Regions from separate parts of the Homo sapiens genome. Here region 2 is linked to region 1. Evidence: promoter capture Hi-C in human tissues and cell types (Jung and others, 2019). All regions are on one chromosome and are shown on one strand. Each heading gives the region's core, a stretch centred on a gene start or on the middle of the fragment in contact. The rest is flanking DNA. Distances are from core to core; before and after follow the strand shown. Region 1 holds the start of QRICH1 (glutamine rich 1). Region 2 holds the start of UQCRC1 (ubiquinol-cytochrome c reductase core protein 1).

What was found. Contacts are between HindIII fragments. The study calls those that stand out against the background at their distance.
Region 2: the fragment with the promoter of UQCRC1 here is called in contact with the fragment with the promoter of QRICH1 in region 1 in 1 of the 25 tissues and cell types used here (liver).

The regions. Positions count from the first base shown.
Region 1 is chr3:49,089,195-49,096,737 of GRCh38, reverse strand. It overlaps QRICH1 (glutamine rich 1), which reads left to right and starts at 2,667. Exons shown (of 10, transcript NM_198880.3): 1 at 2,667-2,826. It overlaps QARS1 (glutaminyl-tRNA synthetase 1), which reads left to right. Exons shown (of 24, transcript NM_005051.3): 24 at 659-806. The coding sequence ends at 709. RefSeq lists enhancers at 2,093-2,432, 2,543-2,662, 3,031-3,543 and a silencer at 2,783-3,032. The HindIII fragment of the contact is 8,300 bases long and covers 1-4,564 here.
Region 2 is chr3:48,606,959-48,614,501 of GRCh38, reverse strand. It overlaps UQCRC1 (ubiquinol-cytochrome c reductase core protein 1), which reads left to right and starts at 4,856. Exons shown (of 13, transcript NM_003365.3): 1 at 4,856-4,950; 2 at 5,200-5,340. The coding sequence starts at 4,882. RefSeq lists enhancers at 257-756, 4,466-4,575, 4,272-4,786, 4,866-4,965 and a silencer at 5,136-5,235. The HindIII fragment of the contact is 22,312 bases long and covers 1-7,543 here.

The DNA of each region.
Region 1 (7,543 bases), core at 1,418-3,917:
AGCTCTGCCTCCCGGGTTCACGCCATTCTCCCGCCTCAGCCTCCCAAATAGCTGGGACTACAGGCGCCCGCCACCACTCCCAGCTAATTTTTTCTATTTTTTAGTAGAGACGGGGTTTCACCGTGTTAGCCAGGATGGTCTCGATCTCCTGATCTCATGATCCGCCTGCCTCGGCCTCCCAGAGTGCTGGGATTACAGGCGTGAGCCACTGCGCCTGGCCTAATTTTTGTATTTTTAGTAGAGACGGGGTTTTGCCATGTTGGCCAGGCTGGTCTTGAACTCCTGACCTCAGATTATCTGCCTGTCTCAGCCTCCCAAAGTGCTGAGATTACAGGCGTGAGCCACTGCACCAGCCCACCCTGTCTTTCTTACTCCTTAAAGTAGGGGGCAAACATGGTGGTTGTTATAATCCATATAAAACTATACCCTGGACCCCCACGGTGGTTGTTATGGTCCATATAATACTATAGCCTAGAGCCCCATTCAGTCCCTTACCCAAAGTCACAAAGTTATTGAGGACCCGGGCCTCCTGACCCTTAGTCCCTCGGCTTCTTTGGCTTAAGAAGGATGTTAGGGGGAGGTGTCTGTGGTGAAACCTGCCCAGGCCTCCCTGGCCTTGTTCTGGGTTGGTGGTCATCCTTTTCCCTCTGCCCTCCAGCTTGTCTTTAACCGAACTGTCACACTGAAGGAAGACCCAGGAAAGGTGTGAGCTGGAAGCACTGAACCTACCTCATCCTCCTGGAGGGTGTGGCTACCCTCGCCACCCCAAATTCCATGTCAATAAAGAACAGCTAAATTCTCCTAGAGTCTGTGTGTTATCTCTGCACTTCTAGCATCTGAAGGCCCTGAAGACATGCTGGTGGTGGTGGTATGATTGGGGGATGGAGATGTGCCTTTTGCACATTTTGTCTGTGAGAATGGACTTTCCCAGAACAGAGTGGTACTGACAGCTTTGAAAGCACCGGTGCACTTTTTGGTGCTTAAAGGCAGGGGCCTGGGTAGGATTCATACCCTCCGCACCTGGTCTGAGAGAATGGAGGGCCCTGGGGTGTTTGTCCATGGTTAGGACCCCTGTGCCAGAGGGATCTAAAAGGTTTGTTTCTGCTGGTGTGGAGAGGCCTAGCTCCCAGTCTGATCATTCAGCATATAATTTTTTTTTTTTTTTTTTGATACGGAGTTCCACTCTAGCCCAGGCTGGAGTGCAGTGGCTCAATCTTGGCTCACTGCAACCTCTGCCTCCCGGGTTCAAGCGATTCTCGTGCCTCAGCCTCCCAAGTAGCTGGGATTACAGGCGGGCGCCACCACTCCTGAATAATTTTTGTAATTTCAGTAGAGACGGGGTTTTGCCAAATTGGCCAGACTGGTCTGGAACTCCTGACCCCAGGTGATCTGCCCGCCTCGGCCTCCCAAAGTGCTGGGATTGCAGGCGTGAGCCACTGCGCCCAATCAGCCTATAATTCTTTTTTATTTTTGAGACGGAGTCTCACTCTTGTCCCCCAAGCTGCAGTGCAATGGTGTGATCTCAGCTCACTGCAACCTCTGCCTCCCAGGTTCAAGCAGTTTTCCTGCCTCAGCCTCTTAAGTAGCTGGGATCACAGGCATGCACCACCACACTCGGCTAATTTTGTATTTTTAGTAGAGACGGGGTTCACCATGTTGGCCAGGCTGGTCTCAAACTCCTGACCTCAGGTGATTCACCCGCCTCGGTCTCCCAAAGTGTTGGGATTACAGACTTCAGCCACCGTGCCCGGCCCATTCGGCATATAATTTTTGAGTGCCTACTACGTGCCAGGCAAAGTGAGATGGGGCATACGTGCTGTGGTGGCCTTCCAAGTTCACGGGAGGGGAAATGGGTGACCAAGCACTGTATGGGAGCGGTCTCCCTGGGGCCTGTGCAAGACTGGAAGAGGTTCCTGACCCAGCCTGGGCCTCAGAAAACATTACTCTAACGAAGTGACTTCTGAAGGGAATCACGAAAGACTACGGGGAGTTTGCCAGGATAAGAGGAACAAGGGCAAAAGCTCCGAGGCAAAAAGAGTCTACAGCAGGCTGGAAGCCCTCTGGGGGCAGTGTAGGCTGCTGCTGAGGCCCGAGTGTGCCTGCAGCTTTAACGCCTTCCACATTTTCCCTGTATACAAACACTAGGCTACCCGGGGGCCCGCTTTAAGGTGGACCCAACTGCGGAAGGCTGAACTCAGATGGCAGCAGACAGCGGGAGTACCAGATGCTGACTCCTCCAGGAGGTGAGCAACCTAGAGGCTTCCCAGGCAGGGCACGGCTGGGGACGCCAGGCCCAGGACAGAAGTTTGTGGGGTCCACCTTAAGCGAGAGGCCGAGCCTGGCCAGGCCCCGCCCCGCGTGGGCGTGCTCGACCAAAGGAGGCTCTGGCGGGCGACGGAAGGTGGGTCCAAAGAGCTAGCTTGGAGCCCTAGCCTTCCGAGACTCCACTACTAGGCCAAGCCACGGCCCTAGCTCCGCCCCACATGGAGAGGCGTCCATGGGCGGAGCGAGCCGCTCCATACCCTAGGATCCACTATCCGCTCTAGCGGCCAGAAGCGCGGCCACCTTCCCCTGCTGAAGCGTTCACTTTAATTTTGGCCGGTAGGCAGTCCCAGATCTCGCGGGATCCGACGCCCCGATTATCGCGAGAGGAGCAATCGGCTCCTATTGGCTGTGAGGGTTGAATGTAAGATGGCGCCCAGGGAGCTGTGAGGAGAAAACCCTGTCGGTCTTGGAGCGACGACGGCAGAACCAGGGTCCCTGGCGGTGCGGCGGGGCCGGCGGGTGCAGCGGAGGCGGCGGCGGCGGCGGCAGTGACGTCGCCGGGTGAGGGCTCCAGTGCGGGTGGGGATGCGGCGAAGCTGTAGGCCTGAGACGGGGGGCCCACCCCACACAACGGCGGGCGGGGGCGGGCGGGCCACTACCGCTGGGCCCTGGAGAGTTCGGGGCGGCTCCGGAGCCGAAAACGTTCCTGGGCTAGCGCACCCCGCCCTGTGGATGGGGGAGGGGTGGCCCGGGGATTTGGGTGGGCGCGGCGCGAGATGGCGCGCCGGTGCGGGCGCGCGGCTGAGCCTGTTTTTACGCGCGCGCGCTGTGCGGCTCTCGGTGCGCGTGGCCGCCGACGTGCGCGTTCCCGGCCCGGATATCTCTGCTCTAGGAGCTGTGGCCCGTGGGCAACCGCGGCTTTCTGGAGCGCGCGCCCGTGACGACCCCCAGTTTTGGGGCGCGCGCTCTGATATCGGGTGGCGGTGCTGCCTCGAGAGCGCGCAGGAGGCTTCTGCTGAGCAGAGGGCCGGCCGCGGCTCGTTGCGCTGGGAAGGTTGAGGATTGGGTCCTTTCTGGTCTGGTGACGTTCCCGGGCATCCGTGGCCTCGGCCTGGAGAGAAACCAACCAGCTTTGCTGTCTGGCTTGCGGTTCCGCTCCTCTGTGAGGGGGGCGAGATTGCCCGTTCTCCTCGAAGAATGCCGTTACTTGAGGCCCAAGTACGGTGCGGGTGCTTGGGTAGGGTGTTTCTCTGCTTCGGAAACCAAGCCCTCTTGGTTTGAGAGGGCAGTGAGCCCCTTCGGATTTCCTCACCTTGTACTGGGCTTTCTGCCGGGCAGGGAAGGTTAATATTAGAAGGCCCTTGAGTGGTACCTGCTTATCTTTCATTAGAAACTAATACGTCCATAAGCGTAATTCATACACGTCACCTCTGTGCGCTCCGGAAGGGAATTCGCTTATGTGGCCCATGTGAACTCCGAGCTCTAAAATGCCAGTTTAAATCCTTAAACGCAGCTTTTCTTTTGCGTAAGTGGGAGGGGCTTACTTTATTATATTAAAGGCCCACCTTTGCCTCAGCCAAAAAGTTGGCCTTAAACAAAATGGAACAACCTGAGAATCAGTGCTTTACCTTTTTTGAAATTGCAGAAATCCCAGCAGAAATTACTAAAATCTGATAGTGTATCACTGTAAAAGTCACTTTTGGTGTAGGATTTCAGTCCTTTTCAGCTCTTTTTTTGACCCTGCCGCTGTGTTTTGGTGTCAAGGAAGTTCTAGGTTTGTTCTAGAGAAATAGGCACCTCTTTTTTCTAATACAAAACATCTGCTAGTTTGATTTACAGTCTTGCTCAATTAAGCTTAAGGAATAGGAAGCTAAGAGGAAGTAAAATTAGCCATCAAATTTGATAATGGTGGGGTAGTTCTTTCTAATGTACTGTATTGTTTTTAAGAACAAAGTTAAAATTATTAATAAAAAGAGGCTGAGGATGGAAGGAACTTTTTTGTTCTATCTTCTTCAGAATATTAGAAGTCTTAAGAACTCAGGACAAGCAGCAGAAATACATGCAACATGGTGACTGGTGAGTTAAAATTGTTCATATCCTGGAAGTATCTGTGCACAGTTTTTTTTCTGGTAATACTGAAGCATTACAAATCCTGTCAATTCTGGGTGCTGTCTTCCAGAAACTATTAGGTGCTGTAAAATGAAGATGTGGGAGAACGGCATCTTTGAATTCAGCCACAGTTCGCTACTTGCTCAGTTTTCTCCTCTTAGGATATAAGTCAGTGGAACCCGCAGATTTAAGCGTTTGCAGGCTCAGCTTTTAAACGGACCTAAATGGTTCAAAGAAAAGCTGTAAAGTTTTTCTAGGATACACTTAAAATTTTGACTTTTTTTTTTTTTTTGAGACGGAGTCTCACTCTGTCACCCAGGCTGGAGTGCAGGGGTGTGATCTCGGCTCACTGCAACCTCCGCCTCCCTGGTTGAAGCGATTCTCCTGCCTCAGTTTCCCAAGTAACTGGGATTACAGGCATGCAGCACCACACCTGGCTAATTTTTTGTATTTGTAGTATAGACGGGGTTTCACCATGTTGATCAGACTGGTCTCGAACTCCTGACCTCGTGATCCACCCGCCCTCGGCCTCCCAAAGTGCTGGGATTACAGGCGTGAGCCACCGCGCCCGACCAAATTTTGATTAATTTTTTAGGCTTGCTTGTTCTGGGTTATCTTTATTTTTAACTATTAAGCTTGAGATCTTCCTTTTAAATTGGTGTTTATAAATACTTTTTCTCCAAGTTTGTCAACTAAGATTTACTTATTAGATGTCTTCCTTCGGGTCCTCTCTGATGAATTTTTCCTATAACTCTTCGAGAACCTCTGCAGTTCCACATCCTCTCTCCAGCTTATGTTGCCATTTCAAACTAAAGATCAAATAGTGGTTTAATTTTCTTGTAAATTTGAATTGCTCTAGGAAAGTAACCAAAGTCAGGGGCTCTGGATGTGGCTGCCTTTCTTTAAGGCAGCTTCAGAATCAGGGATGTCTTTCCTTACTTTGGATATGCTTTTTTTTTTGGATATGCTTTCTTTTAGTTTAATTAGTTGTGGTTTATACTTCATGTGCCATATTTCTTTCTTGTCTGCTTTTTAAATGGCCACTCTTGATCTGTAAGGGTCTCTGATTTCTGAATTAGCCTTAGAATTAGGTGTTACATGAATACCTGTTCTTTTCTTTTTATTTTTATTATTATTTTTTGAGACGGAGTCTCGCTCTGTTGCCCGGGCTGGAGTGCTGTGGTGCAATCTTGGCTCACTGCAACCTCTGCCTCCTGGGTTCACGCCATTCTCCTGCCTCAGCCTCCGGAGTAGCTGGGACTGCAGGCTCCCGCCACCATGCCTGTCTCATTTTTTGTATTTTTTAGTAGAAACGGGGTTTTACTCTGTTAGCCAGGATGGTCTCAATCTCCTGACCTCGGGATCCTCCCACCTTGGCCTCCCAAAGTGCTGGGATTACAGGCGTGAGCCACCGCGCCTGGCCTATTACCTGTTCTTTTCTGTTATTCTGTTGTACTGCATTTTGTTCCAGATGTTTTAAGTCCTCTTCAGACTTCACTTAAATGCTTCCTTTGTATTTTTTCCTAGTTATTACATTAGATTGTGATTTCTGTTATTAAATTGATGTGGCTGCATGAAGAAATGGTAGATTAATTTCTTCCTTTGCTGAAAGAGGGAAGGAGTGCTCCTTTGGTCTCACTCTTCAGGCCAGGGCAAAACTGTAGGTAGAAATGGTGGCTGTGTCAGAAGGCTAATATTTTTCTCTTTTTCTCTTTTCTCTTTTTTTTTTTTTTTTGAGATGGAGTTTCACTCTTGTCGCCCAGGCTGGAGTGCAGTAGCACGATTTCGGCTCACTGCAACCTCCACCTTCCGGGTTCAAGCAATTCTCCTGCCTCAGCCTCTGGAGTAGCTGGAATTACAGGTGCCCGCCACCACGCTGGGCTAATTTTTTTTTTTTTTTTTTTTGAGACGTAGTCTCGCTCTGCTGCCCAGGCTGGAGTGCAGTGGCACGATCTCGGCTCACTGCAAGCTCCACCTTCTGGGTTCACGCCATTCTCCTGCCTCAGCCTCCCGAGTAGCTGGGACTGCAGGTGCCTGCCACCATGCCCGGCTAATTTTTTGTAGTTTTAGTAGAGACGGGGTTTCACCGTGTTAGCCAGCATGGTCTTGATCTCCTGACCTCGTGATCCGCCCGCCTCGGCCTCCCACAGTGCTGGGATTACAGGCGTGAGCCACTGTGCCCGGCTGATGTCTGGCTAATTTTTTGTATTTGTAGTAGAGACGGAGTTTCACTATGTTGGTCAGGCTGGTCTTGAACTCCTGACCTCGTGGTCTGCCTACCTTGGCCTCCCAAAGTGCTGAGATTACAGGCGTGAGCCACTGCGCCCGCCCATGTTTTTCTTTGTTTTAAAATTTGTGAAATATTTATCCATCCATGTAAATTTAGGCGATCTCTGTACAATTTAATGACAAATTATAAAGTAAATGCTGGCGAAAGTACTACTTTTTCAAGAAATAAAACGATGCCAGTATCTCTGAACCCTTCGTGGGTCCCTTCCTGATCACAGCTTCTCAAGCCGTACAGACAGCTGTTATTCTGTGATAACATTCTTCTTCTTTTTACATTTACCATCTCCGTAGCCCTTAACCTAGTTTAGATTTGTTTCCTTATGAGTTTTGTATAAATGGAGTCATGCTGTATTATGTTGTCTTAGCATAATGTTTCTGAAATTTGTTCACATTGTGTGCAGCTGTTCATTTCCATTTTTTATGTAGTATTCTGTTGTATGAATACACCATAAGGTATTTATCTATTCCACTATTGATAGATATCTGGGTTGCTTCCAGCTTTTGGCTCTTAACAATGCTGCTGTGAACATTCTTGTATTAAGTACCCTTGTTTAAAAAAAAGTTCCTTCATATATACTGATGGGTAAAATTGCTCAGGTTCGTGGAATGGATATTTTCAGCTTCACTAGATAATGCAAGTGGTTGTGCCAGTTTACAATCCGTCAATATTTGGGAAAAATACAAATTTTAGTTTCCTGATTGAAAATAGAACCATGGCCGGGTGCAGTGGCTCATGCCTGTAATCCCATTACTTTAGGAGGCCAATGCGGGCGGATCACCTAAGGTCAGGAGTTCCAGACCAGCCTGGCCAACATGGTGAAATCCCGTCTCTACTAAAAATACAAAAATTAGCAGGGCATGGTGATGGGCGCCTGTAATC
Region 2 (7,543 bases), core at 3,607-6,106, 480 kb after region 1:
ACAAGTTTGAGAATCTATGGGATGATAGAGGGAACAACAGAGATGGGTAGGGAAACAGGGCCTCATCAAGAAACGGTGTTACAAAATTTAGTTTGCCTTTTAGGGGGAGAGAGGATATTTTGACCTTACCTCACTCTATATACCAAGTAAATTCCAGAGAATCAATGAGTCACCAAACACTGTTGCAAAATTATTGCAATGATCACTGCTTGCACTTAACCTTTTAGTAATATTTCCTGTTTTGACCAACCCCTTGAAACGCATCGTTCCCAACCAGCATCAGACTTCCTAGTTGTCTCCTACTTCAATGGCCTTCCCTTCTTAGCCCAGGGTAGCAGTGGGTATAGGTAGGGAGGCTAGGTGACTGGGTTTAGGAATATTTCATTTGGGAGGCTGAGGTGGGAGGATCACTTGAGCCTAGGAGTTCAAGACCAGACTGGGGAATATAGTGAGACCCCATCTCTAGAAAAATGTTTTTAAAAATTAGCTGGGTGTGATGGTGCATGCCTATATAGTTCCAGCTACTCAGGAGGCTGGAGTGGGAAGATGGCTTGAGCTGGAAGGTTGAGGCTGCAGTGAGCCATGATCACACCACTGCATTCCAGCCTGAGTGACAGAAAGCCAGACCCTCTCAAAAAAAAAAAAGAAAGAGAGAGAAAGGAAGGGAGGAAGGAAGGAAGGAAAGGAAGGAGGGAGGGAAGGAAGGAAGGAAGGAAAGGAAGCAGGCAGGCCGGGTGCGGTGGCTCACACCTGTAATCCCAGCACTTTGGGAGGCCAAGGTGGGTGGATCACCTGAGGTTGGGAGTTTGAGACCAGCCTGACTAACATGGAGAAACCCCATCTCTACTAAAAATACAAAATTAGCTAGGCGTGATGGCACATGCCTGTAGTCCCAGCTACTCGGGAGACTGAGGCATGAGCATCGCTTGAACCCGGGAGGCAGAGGTTGCTGATAAGATTGCGCCATTGCACTCCAACCTGGGCAACAAGAGCGAAACTCGGTCTCAAAAATAAAAAAGGTCGGGCGTGGTAGCTCATGCCTGTAATCCCAGCACTTTGGCAGATCACGAGGTCAAGAGATCGAGACCATCCTGGCCAACATGGTGAAATCCCATCTCTACTAAAACTACAAAAATTAGCTGGGTGTGGTGGCACATGCCTTAGTCCCAGCTACTTGGGAGCCTGAGGCAGGAGAATCGCTTGAACCCAGGAGGCGGATGTTGCAGTGAGCCAAGATCATGCCACTGCACTCCAGCCTGGCAACAGAGCGAGACTCCATCTCAAAAAAAAAAAAAAAAGAGATCACGTCCAGGGGCGGTGGCTCACATCTGTAGTCCCAGCACTTTGGGAGGCCAAGGCAGGAGGCTCACTTGAGCCTGGAGTTTGAGACCAGCCTGGGCCACATAGTGAAATCCTGTCTCTACAAAAAATATAAAAGTTAGCTGGGTATGATGGTGTGCACCTGTGTTCCCAGCTACTCAGGAGCCTGAGGTAGAAGGATCACTTGAGCCAGGGCATGGTGGCGTGTGGCGTCCCAGCTACTTGGAAGGCTGAGGCAGGAGAATTGCTTGAATCCAGGAGGCTGAGGTTGCAGTGAGCCAAGATCACGCCACTGCACTTCAGCCTGGGTGACAGAATGAGACTCTGTCAAAAATTAGCGATGTTGGCATGTGCCTGCAGTTCCAGCTACTCGGGAGGCCGAGGCAGGAGAATTGCTTGAACCTGGGAGATGGAGGTTGCAGTGAGCAGAGATCCTGCCACTGCACTCCAGCCTGGGTGACAGAATGAGACTCTGTCTCAAAAAAGAAAGAAAAAAATAGAGATCATAAGACTGAGAGAATGAACCCTTTGTAGCAATAAGATACCAAAGTATAAACAAGACATTAAGGCCATGCCAGGCAAGAGTTAAGCCGTTCACCAAAGAATAAACTATGTTCTAACTGCTGCAAGGTTTTTCTTTTTCTCCAGCAGCTAAACAAGCACTGGCCTTGAGATAAGCAATATAGAAACAATTGCAGTTCATCCATCACCAGACACTGACCCCACAAGCCATAACTATAGCTTTGATTGCACAAGAGATGGATTTTGGTGACTTTTTCCTAATAAGAGACCACTGACCAGGGACTGGCTTCAGTTGGTTTATGGAACCTGTGCACTGAGTGCTTTTGTATCCTTCATTTTGACATATGGTGCTAATTGTATTTCTTTTCTTTTTTTTTTTTTTTTTTGAGATGGAGTCTCCCTCTGTAGCCCAGGCTGGAGTGCAGTGGTGCGATCTTGGCTCACTGCAACCTCCGCTTCCCGGTTTCAAGTGATTCTCCTTCCTCACCCTCCTGAGTAGCTGGGACTACAGGCATACGCCACCACGCCCAGCTAATTTTTGTATTTTTAGTAGAGACGGGGTTTTACTGTGTTGGCCAGGATGGTCTTGATCTTCTGACCTCGTGAGCCACCCACCTCGGCTTCCCAAAGTGCTGAGATTATAGGCGTGAGCCACCGCACCCGGCCTGTAATGTATTTCAATGTTAAGTCTCCACCCCAAAGTGAACATGGGTCATATACAACACACATGTTTATTCAGTATACTTGCATTAGGACCCCCTTCATGAGTATCTATAGCTCTTCCTGTAACCTGTTGAATATGGTATTTTTTGTTTTTGTTTTTTCTTTTTTGAGACAGAGTCTCGCTCTGTCACCCAGGCTGGAGTGCAGTGGCGCGATCTCGGCTCACTGCAACCTCCGCCTCCCAGGTTCAAGCGATTCTTCTGCCTCAGCTTCCCGAGTAGCTGGGATTATAGGCACATGCCATCATGCCTGGCAGATTTTTTGTATTTTTAGTAGAGACGGGGTTTCACCATGTTAGCCAGGATGGTCTCAATCTCCTGACCTTGTGATCCGCCCACCTCGGCCTCCCAAAGTTTGGGATTACAGGTGTGAGCCACCGTGCCCGGCCGAATATGTATGTTTAGCCAAGCCATTCGACATAAAGCTCCTGCCTCTTTTTAAGGGTCTGTCTCTGGTTTTGACCAGAAGCCCACCTCCCAGCCTGCAGGTTGTAACCCTTTATAAGAAATAAAGTCAGCCTGGCACGGTGGCTCATGACTGTAATCCCAGCACTTTGGGAGGCTGAGGTAGGAGGATCACTTGAGCTCAGGAGTTTAAGATCAGCCTGGGCAACATAATGAGACCCCCGTCTCCACAAAAAATAAAAAAAAATTAGCTGGGTGTGGTGTGAGAGCCTGTGGTCATGGCATCTGGCATGATTTTTATAAAGATAGTTTTATTTTAAGTATAAGAGTAGTTTTTGGGTAAGGTGTGGTGGCTCACCCCTGTAATCCTAGCACTTTGGGAGGCTGAGGTGGGTGGATTGCTTGAGGCCAGGAGTTTGATATCAGCCTGGCCAACATGGTAAAAAATGCAATGATCCTAGCCCTTGCCTCTTCCTGTACTTAAGATACTGTCTGACAGGATTAATGATTATGCTTCTGTGACCTATAAACAGATGTACTCTTGCACCCAAACCTTGATGAGATTTATGCTCTAATGTAACTTCTGAGCACATTTGATGTAATTTCTGAGCACATGGAGAGCCGCCACCACCAGTGTATAAACTGTCGGAAACACTGCTTTGGAGCAGTCTAGCAGAAACTCCCTGAAAGGCTCTCCCGGGTTGCAATTCTTGGTAAGACTTCTGAATAGAACTAACTTTAAATATTTAAAAGCTTGTTTTTTTTTTTCTTTAGTTGACATAACAAAGCATACCTTAGAAGTCTTTTTTTTTTTTTTTTTTTTTTTTTGAGACGGAGTTTCGCTCTTGTTGCCCAGGCTGGAAATGGCGCGATCTCGGCTCACCGCAACCTCCGCCTCCCGGGTTCAAGTGATTCTCCTGCCTCAGCCTCTGGAGTAGCTAGGATTACAGGCATGCGCCACCACGCCCGTCTACTTTTGTATTTTTAGTAGAGACGGGGTTTCTCCATGTCGGTCAGGCTGGTCTCAAATTCCCGACCTCAGGTGATCCGCCCACCTCGGCCTTCCAAAGTGCTGGGATTACAGGCATGAGCCACTGCACCCAGCCAGAATTCTTTTTCCTCTTACAGAAAAGGAAAGGTTTCACCATGTTGGCCAGGCTGGTCTTGGACTCCTCGCCTCAAGTGATCCACCTGCCTCGGCCTCCCAAAGTGTTGGGATTACAGGAGTGAGCCACCGCTCCCGGCCTGTACTTAGTTCTTTTAAAGAGAAAACTGGCAGGGCGCAAAACTGGCCAACATGGAGAAACCTTGTCTCTTCTAAAGAAACAAAAATTACCGGGCATAATCCCAGCTACTCGGGAGGCTGAGGCAGGAGAATCGCTTGAAGCCGGGAGGCGGAGGTTGCAGTGAGCCGAGATCGCGCCATTGCACTCCAGCCTGGGCGACAGAGCGAGACCCTGTCTCAGAAAATAAAAAATAAATAAAGAGAAAAAAATACTGACTTTCAGCACCAACTTGTGGTCCCAGGTAAGTTTCCACGCTGGTACTTTAGCCCTGGGCTCGAACCTGCGGACACGCTGTGGCTGCAACTCCCCGCCCGCCAGACCTCAGTACGCAGCGCGGCTGGTGAGAAACATAATGCACTCTGACTTCCACGCGTGGAATGGGGAGATGGACTGCACGGCGGGCGGACCTGCTCGGGCTGATGGACGGCAGGTGGACTGATGTGCGCAGGGACTGGCGGCAGCGCGGTCAGAGCCAGTCAGCCAAAGCCAGGCCAGCACAATAGACTGTCCCGGTTCCCGCCAGGAGGCGGCCGAGCACCAACTGTACGGTACTGCGCCTGCGCCGCGACCGCCAACGCGCCCAGTCTACGCTTGCGCGGCGCAACAGGGCCGACTGCAGCTGGAAGATGGCGGCGTCCGTGGTCTGTCGGGCCGCTACCGCCGGGGCACAAGTGCTATTGCGCGCCCGCCGCTCGGTGAGGTGGTGGCGAGAGCGCGGGGCTTCGGGACAGGGCTTCGGGAAGCGGACAGGTGTGGGCTGTTAGCAGTGGCAGGTCGAGGTGGGGAGGACGCGGGGTCAGGGCCGTGGGAAGGTCACGGCGGAGGGCGGGGAAAGGTATCTCGCCGCTTGCCTAGGGGCGGGGTTCGGGGGTCCTCCTGAGGACCTGGGAGGTGGGGAGCGATCCCCTGACCGAGTCCTCACTCGCGGCTGTTCCCTTCCACAGCCGGCCCTGCTGCGGACGCCAGCCTTGCGGAGTACGGCAACCTTCGCTCAGGCGCTCCAGTTCGTGCCGGAGACGCAGGTTAGCCTGCTGGACAACGGCCTGCGTGTGGCCTCCGAGCAGTCCTCTCAGCCCACTTGCACGGTGAGTTGGGGACGCTTTTGGGGAGAGGGCCTCCAGGTTGGGCCTGCCGTCTTTTCCCTGGTTGGGGTGTGACCTTGGGCTCGAGTCTTCCCGTTTGTGGTTTGGGTTCGGACCCAGGACCACTCACCCCGAGAATGGCCCCATTCCCTACCCTAGCCACGCCTTGGCTTCACGGGACAATCTTCACTATAAGCCAACATTATTTAGCATATAATGCCCGTTAAGTAGGCGGCCAAATTCTTTTCCAGCCTTTTGTTAAGGAGCCCATATAAGGGAAGTGATCATGTCTCCTCTTATAATGCGGAAAATGGGATTCAGACACCTTAGGTGACTTGCAGGGGTCCAGGTCTGTCAGCCTCACTGCCCAAGGTCATAATCTCCAGGCTAGACCAGAAATACATTTTAGGAAGCAAATGCATTTTAACAGTACAATGAAATGTGTGATTTTCCAAAAAATACAAATTCTCTAAATTGACACAAGAAATCTTGAGTCACAGATAGATATATGAATAGGTGAGAAGATTCCCAAGAAATAATTATCTCCTCCTCCTTTCAGCCCCCAGCCCCAGGGCCAGATGTTTTTATTGACACATCCTTTTAGTTTTCCAGAAACAATGTCCTGCGATTTAAATTGTTACTAAGCATAGGAAAAGGTGGCCTGCAACTTCCTTGTTATATGTCACTTGTTATAGTAAAGAATGCTATATTACATGAACTCTAAAATGTGCTAGATTGTAAGGAGCTGTCTGTGCTCCAGTGCCAGAGAAAGAATCTCAAGAATCTTGCCAATTTTAATCAAAGGATACTATAGATTGTAAAATGCCTCTTGCATTCCAAGATGTTAGATGTGAAATACATGTTCATCTAAGATTGTGTGATATATGGTATATGCATTGACATCTCTTAGGAAAGCAAATATCACATGTTCTCACTTATCAGTGGGAGCTAAAAAATACGTACATACAGATGTAGAGAGTGGAATGATGGACAGTGAAGACTTGGAAGGATGAAGGGGTGGATGATGAGAAACTACTTAATGGGTCCAGGCCTGGAGGCTCACACCTGTAATCTCAGCACTTTGGGAGACCAAGGCAGGCGGATCAGCTGAGGCCAGGAGTTCAAGACCAGCCTGGCAAACATAGTGAAGCCCCATCTCTACTAAAAATACAAAAATTAGCCATGCATGGCACACGCCTGTAATCCCAGCTCCTGGGGAGACTGAGGCAAGAGAATCGCTTGAACCCGGGAGGCAGAGATTGCAGTGAGCCGAGATGGAGCCACTGCACTCCAGCCTGGGTGAGAGAGCGAGAGTCCATCTCAAAAAAAAAAAAAGAAATTACTTAATGGGTACAAGGTTTGTTATTCTGGTGATGGATAATTCAGAATCCCTGATTTGACTACTTGTGCATTCTGTGCCTGTAATGACATCACACTTGTGGGCGGGGCACAGTGGCTTACACCAGTAATTCCAGGGCTTTGAGAGGCCAAAGCAGGAGGATCGATTGAGCCCAGGAATAAGAGGTTGCAGTGAGCCATGATTATGTCACTGTACTCTGGCCTGGGTGACAGAGCAAGGCCCTCTGTCTTAAAAAAAAAAAAAAAGAAAAAAATGGAGTTTCAGGTGTGGATAGAAATTTCTAAAAATTGTGCTTGTACCCCATAAATTTATACAATAAAAAAAAGTCTTGGCTGGGCGCAGTGGCTCATGCCTATAATCCCAGCACTTTGGGAGACCGAGGCAGGCGGATCACGAGGTCAAGAGATTGAGACCATCCTGGCCAACATGGTGAAACCCCGCCTCTACTAAAAATACAAAAATTAGGCTAGACGCGGTGGCTCACGCCTGTAATCCCAGCACTTTGGGAGGCCGAGGCGGGCGAATCACAAGGTCAGGAGATTGAGACCATCCTGGCTAACACGGTGAAACCCCGTCTCTACTAAAAATACAAAAAATTAGCCGGGCGTGGTGGCGGGCGCCTGTAGTTCCAGCTACTCGGGAGGCTGAGGCAGGAGAATGCCATGAACCTGGGAGGCAGAGCTTGCAGTGAGCCAAGATCGCACCACTGCACTCCAGCCTGGGTGACAGAGCGAGACTCCGTCTCAAAAAAAAAACACACACACACAAAAAAACAAAAATTAGCTGGGCGTGGTGGTGCACGCCTGTAGTTCCAGCTACTCGGGAGGCTGAGGCGGGAGAATCACT